Linked DNA regions of Homo sapiens: region 1 is linked to region 2. Evidence: promoter capture Hi-C in human tissues and cell types (Jung and others, 2019). All regions are on one chromosome and are shown on one strand. Each heading gives the region's core, a stretch centred on a gene start or on the middle of the fragment in contact. The rest is flanking DNA. Distances are from core to core; before and after follow the strand shown. Region 1 overlaps LRRC36 (leucine rich repeat containing 36). Region 2 holds the start of PLEKHG4 (pleckstrin homology and RhoGEF domain containing G4).

Evidence for each region. Contacts are between HindIII fragments. The study calls those that stand out against the background at their distance.
Region 1: a fragment that was not itself captured here is called in contact with the fragment with the promoter of PLEKHG4 in region 2 in 2 of the 25 tissues and cell types used here (mesenchymal stem cells and spleen).

What each region holds. Positions count from the first base shown.
Region 1 is chr16:67,339,625-67,342,576 of GRCh38, reverse strand. LRRC36 (leucine rich repeat containing 36) reads right to left here. Exons shown (of 14, transcript NM_018296.6): 2 at 493-620. Among named protein-coding and RNA genes, the nearest start is that of LRRC36, 14 kb to the right of the region's middle. The HindIII fragment of the contact is 3,387 bases long and covers 1-2,952 here.
Region 2 is chr16:67,277,948-67,280,805 of GRCh38, reverse strand. It overlaps PLEKHG4 (pleckstrin homology and RhoGEF domain containing G4), which reads right to left and starts at 1,274. Exons shown (of 22, transcript NM_001129729.3): 1 at 1,180-1,274; 2 at 263-930; 3 at 1-95. The coding sequence starts at 761. It overlaps LOC124903701 (a long non-coding RNA gene), which reads left to right and starts at 1,395. Exons shown (of 3, transcript XR_007065092.1): 1 at 1,395-1,657. RefSeq lists silencers at 1,241-1,422, 1,142-1,571, 1,622-1,781. The HindIII fragment of the contact is 17,100 bases long and covers 1-2,858 here.

The sequences.
Region 1 (2,952 bases), core at 293-2,792, 62 kb before region 2:
CCCCTGACTTAAATTTTCCCAAGACCACACCTTCCTTCTCCTCATAGAAAAAACTCACAATAACAACACAGGCCAGTGTTTCTCCATGTATGCTCCATGTACCACCATCATCAGAATCCCCTGAGTATGTCCTGAGCCTACCCTAGACCTACTAAATCAGACCAACTCTCACAGTAGGGACTGAGAATCTGTACTTCTACAAGTGTTCTTCATAATTTTTTATACACACTAAAATTTATGCATTTGCCCTAGACAGTGATATCTTAATATAGTTTTCCGAGAGTATAAAATAAATTGCCCTCCCAATATTTTATAACAATTTAAAATATACTGCAAAGTTGAAAGAATTTTATAAGAAATAATTAAATTTAGTTGGGAATCATTTAAAGGGAAGGTCTTATATTCCCCAGGATGACATGATCTATCTCTTATTTCTTCCCATCAAAAAAATAAATTGGGCAGACCTGGCTGGTCATAGAATATATAACTTACCTTAAGGCTAGTGATCAAATTCCTTGATAAATCTAAGGATCGGAGATTTTTAAAATTTCTGAAGGCATCACCAATGGAATGGATTTTGCCAGCATAAGATCCCTGCAATGAAAGAGACTCCACCAGTTCTGAAAAGAGATCATCAGTAGATATATTATGATCCCTGCTCGGATCAACAGCAGAGTCAGTGAAAGTAGGCCTTTCTTCCTCCCATATCTCAACTGTGCAAGGCCCTACATCCAAGCCTCATAAGATCAGATCTTCTTTTTAAAAGCAGCAGTATGGTCTAATATAGTGACATTGAACCTTAGTTTTATAGAGCCCTTGAGTTTTTCTAATTTCCCTGAAGGATGTACTAAAAGTCTCCAAAAGTTCTCAAAACAAAATTTCAAAAGATATTCAGCAACCCCACTGCTAGGATTTAGCCCTATGGATAATAACCACAAAATTTTGGCAGGTTATATAAAATATAGCACAAGGATGTCAATTTCAGAGCGGTTTTAAGATAGTAAAAAAAATTAAAAAGAAAGAAATAGAAAACTGTCAAAGGTCCATCAGCAGAAAAATAGAGCCAGACAGCCTAAATAATAGTACATTGATACGAAAGACAATATACTACATCTGCGACCTTGTTCAAGTCACTTAACCTCTTTGTGCATCAGTTTCCTCATCTGTAAAATGGGGGTAACAATGGTACTCAATTCATAAGGTGTTACAAGAATTAAATTAATGCATATGTACAAAACATATATATAGACTATATATAGTCTATAGTCTATAGTCTATAGACTGTCTATAGACTATAGATAGGCTATAGTATATATAGAATATATATAATTATATATAATTATATATATTAAATTATATATTAAATGACATATATTAAATCTATATATAGAATATGTAGAGTACATATTCTATAGAATATGTAGAGTACATATTCTATAGAATATGTAGAGTACATATTCTATAGAATATGTAGAGTACATATTCTATAGAATATGTAGAGTACATATTCTATAGAATATGTAGAGTACATATTCTATAGAATATGTAGAGTACATATTCTATAGAATACATATTCTATATATAATATACATATTCTATATTCTATAGAATATATGTAGTACATATTCTATATTCTATAGAGTATATGTAGTACATATTCTATATTCTATAGAGTATATGTAGTATATATTCTATAGAGTATATGTAGTATATATTCTATAGAGTATATGTGGTATATATTCTATAGAGTATATGTGGTATATATTCTATAGAGTATATGTGGTATATATTCTATAGAGTATATGTGGTATATATTCTATAGAGTATATGTGGTATATATTCTATAGAGTATATATATAGAATATACATATATGAGAAGAAGTAGATAAAAGTCAACTAGACTTTTTTTTCTATTTTTTTTGAGATGGAGTCTTGCTCTTTCGCCCAAGCTGGAGTGCAGTGGTGTGATCTCAGCTCACTGCAACCTCCACCTCCCAAGTTCAAGAGATTCTCCTGCCTCAGCCTCCCAAGTAGCTGGGAACACAGGTGTGCACCACCACACCCGGCTAATTTTTTGTATTTTAGGTAGAAACGGGGTTTTGCCAAGCTGCTCTTGAACTCCTGACCTCAGGTGATCCACCAGTCTCAGCCTCAGCCTCCCAAAGTGCTGGGATTACAGGCATGAGCCACTGAGCCTGGGCATCAACTAGACTATTAACAGTCCTGAAAAGGGGAGAATCTCAAAATTGTCAGTAAGAACTCACTGGCAAGGGTGGTAGGCCAAACTGCGAATAGCAACCAAAACTGGAAGAGAGTTCTACAGAATCCAGTTTGCAGATAAGTGCCAGGAGACTGCATTGAAATAAGATCTTAAGTTGCTAGAGCAGTCTGGGTCCCATAAACTTTATTTTATTTTATTATTTATTTATTTATTGAGATGGAATCTCACTCTTGTCACCCAGGCTGGAGTGCAATGGTGCGATCTTGGCTCACTGCAACCTCCATCTCCTGGGTTCAAGTGATTCTCCTGCCTCAGCCTCCCAAGTAGGTGGGATTAAGGTGTGTGCCACTATGCCTGGCTAATTTTTGTACTTTCAGTAGAGACGGGGTTTCACCATGTTACCCAGGCTGGTCTCAAACTCCTGACCTCAGGTGATCCACCTGACTTGGCCTCCCAAAGTGGTGGGATTACAGGCGTCAGCCACCGTGCCTGGCCCCCATAAGCTTTAAATAGTCATAAACCAAAGATCCCTTTCAGGACAAGACCCATACCACGGAGAAATTAGTGGGAGTAGAATCTACACTGAATGGAACAGGGACATAGATGCAAAGGAAATAAAAGGTCCAGATATGAATAGGGGAGGGAAGCAGAATGGACGGATCTCAGGAAGCATGTCATGTTTTACACTACTCTGTGAACACAACAGAAGAGGGAGCTCCAAAACCTTGAAA
Region 2 (2,858 bases), core at 25-2,524:
TGGCAAGGTGGCCATACCACTGGCCAGCAGCTCCCAACAGAGGTCTTGGGCCAGGAGGCAGTCAGCAGGCTTAGGGAGGCCGGATCCACTGGGGGCTTGGGAAGGGAAATGACTTGGGTCTGCCTTGGACCACCTATCCAGAGACCCCTACTTGGACCCGGGCTTCAGCCTGAGTAGGGTCAGAGACCTCCAAAGTCTTGACACTCATCTCTCCAGGCATCCCCATTCCCTTCCCAGACTTCCCTAGCCCAGCCTTCCTTACCTGCCTCCAGCAGCTTTGATATTTCTGATAAAGGGTCTCCAAGGCCCACAGGGTCGCTGTCCAATGCCCCAGGGCTCAAGCCAGATGGCATCGCCCTGCTTGGACCTGGGTCCCCTACCAACCCTACCCCTGGGGTGTCACTCTCACCCTGTGCCAAGCTGAGGTGGGAGGACATGGGGCATAGGAGACTCTCCACTCCAGAGGGGCCTGGCCCTTCTGACAGGACTGAGGAGCTTTCTACTGTGCCCCTCTGGGCATCCCCCGACTCATCTGCAGCTGGGGGTAACTGGAATTTCCTGGACAAGGGGCTGCCCTGTAGCTCCTCATCCTGGGTGGCCCCGGCTGGTGGTCTTGGAGGACCTGGGTCCTTAACGTGCATCTGGGAAGCAGGTTCCTCCTCTTCCCAGGCATCCCTGAAACTGCACACAGCAAATCTCCAGTCGGTGGCATGGCCCTGAGAGTCTGGGGACTCATCCCCATTCTCCAGGGGCCTTTCCATCACGCCCTCCTAAAGGTGGGCCTGCTCGGGGCCAGCGGGAGAGGGCTGGGTCTCAGTGTGAACCGCGCTGAAGACAGTCGAGTGGGACTCAGTGGGCAATGCAGGCGAAGGGCATGGGCCGCAGGAGGTGCCAGTCTTAGTGCCAGGGCACAGGAACTGCAATTCAGGCCTGGGAAGAGGGAATAACGTTAAGGGTGTCCCTCTGTCCAGGTCCCCCGTCGGACGCCCGTGGGCCTCTGCTCCGTGCGCGCCCACCCTCAGCGTCCTCACGGCCACGCTCTGCAGGCCCATGCCCGTGGGGGCGGCCCCGCCATGGCACCACGATGCCTCGGGTTCGCTCTCCTGCCGGCCCCCCCAGGCCCTGGCCTTGTTGCAGGGCCTACCGCGCGCCCCCCCGTCGCCCGCTGGCGACACTCACGCCCCCGGGCCGAGCCGCGGGGAACCGTGAAGTCGGACAGCCTTCGAACAGACGGCGGCCTCGACGGCCACTACAGCGCGGCCGCGCGGCGTCACGGGACACCGCCTCCTGGCCGCTGGGAAGGGAGGGCAGTGCCGCCGGGGCGCCGCGCAGCGCCGCGCCGCCCCCTGGAGGCCGGAGGACGGAGCCACAGCCCGAGCAGGTCTCGACGGGGCACAGCCCTGCCGGCGCGGAAGACAAGGTGCGGGCCCTGCAGCAACCCCCGCCCGCCGCCGTCCTCTCCGTGGGCCCGGACAGCCCGCCAGCCCCGCCCCGCCGCACCCCCGGGCCCCGCAGACCGCGCGCCTCACCCGCGGCGTCGCAGTGCGTGGGTTGGGGCAGCGACCAACGGTCGGCAGCTCCACCGTGCCCACTCCCCGGGCCTGGCGAGGACGCCGGAAGCGCTCTCCCGCCAGGAAGGCCGCGTGGGTGAGCGAGGGTGAGTGCGCGGGGGGCACCGCGGGACGGGGCGGGGCGGGGTCTCCCAGGGGCTTCCGCGGCTGAATGAGCCGACGGGAGGGGAAGGCCTTCTGTGTAGGGAAGCGGGGTGCTGCCTCGCCGCGGGCACCCAGAGACAGGTCGCATGATCCCACGTGGGATGGGGCTGCCATCCGGGTGGGAGTGAGACCAATGGGTGGAGCTGACCCAGGCCTGCCAGAGTCCACCAGATCCTCTACCCCTTTGCCATCCCTGGCACCCCCTTACCCCCTTCTCCACAAAGTCCGGTGCAGGAGGCTGGTGCTGAGGTGGGGTTCTGGAGCCAGAGCCCCCAGCCCAGGCCTGGCTTCTCCACTTACCTGCTGGGGGCGCTCCAGGAACTCTGCTCTTTGAGCCTCACCCTCCTCACCTGTAAAAATGGAAAGTCATTTTTCTCCTGGGGTTGCCGTGAGGACTGGGGAAGACTCCCTGTGTTATACGTTCACCCGCTGCCAGCACTCGGGCTGTGTTGGTGCCCTGCCCCCTCATTTCACCCGCAGTCAGGGAATCCTGAACTGATGAAAGCTACCCAAGTGGGTAGCTGTGCGATTTGAGGTCCCTTTAGGGCATGTGGGCCTGGCCCGACACTCCCCAGAATTTGTGGGAAGATTGTGGGAAGGTCAGCTCTGCGACCAGGAGAAGACCCTGAGCCCCACAGTGTGCCCAGGCCCATGGTCCCTGGGGAGAGGGGGCACCGGGTGCAACGGCTTCCCTGGCTCTAAGGCAGGCACCTCTTTCATGAACCTGGGGATTACAACAGGCACAGTGGGACCAACAGCAATCTCCCCACCCAGCCCAGCCCAGCCCCCAGAGTCCAGACTTTCAGGCAGCTACCGAGGAGCCTTCTTCATGAGCAGGTCTGGCTGCCAGAGGGGAGCCTTGGAGTTGTCCTGCTCCATCCCTAACTCCCAGCCAGACCTCTCTTCCCACCCTCCTGGCTTCAGGAAGCATCATCCAACCTTGGCTTCCTCCCCAGTTCTGTCCCAGGGCCACCCCCACTGAGTCACTGCCTTCTGCTCCCTCCCTCCCCTTCTGCTGCCCACCAGCACCCACCAGCCAAGTCCCCCAGGAGCCCTAAGAGCCGGGGGGGACCTGCTGGCGGGCACACATACCCCTGTGAATGCCAGAGGCAAAGAAGAGCCTCAAGCCACAGGCTATAGCTG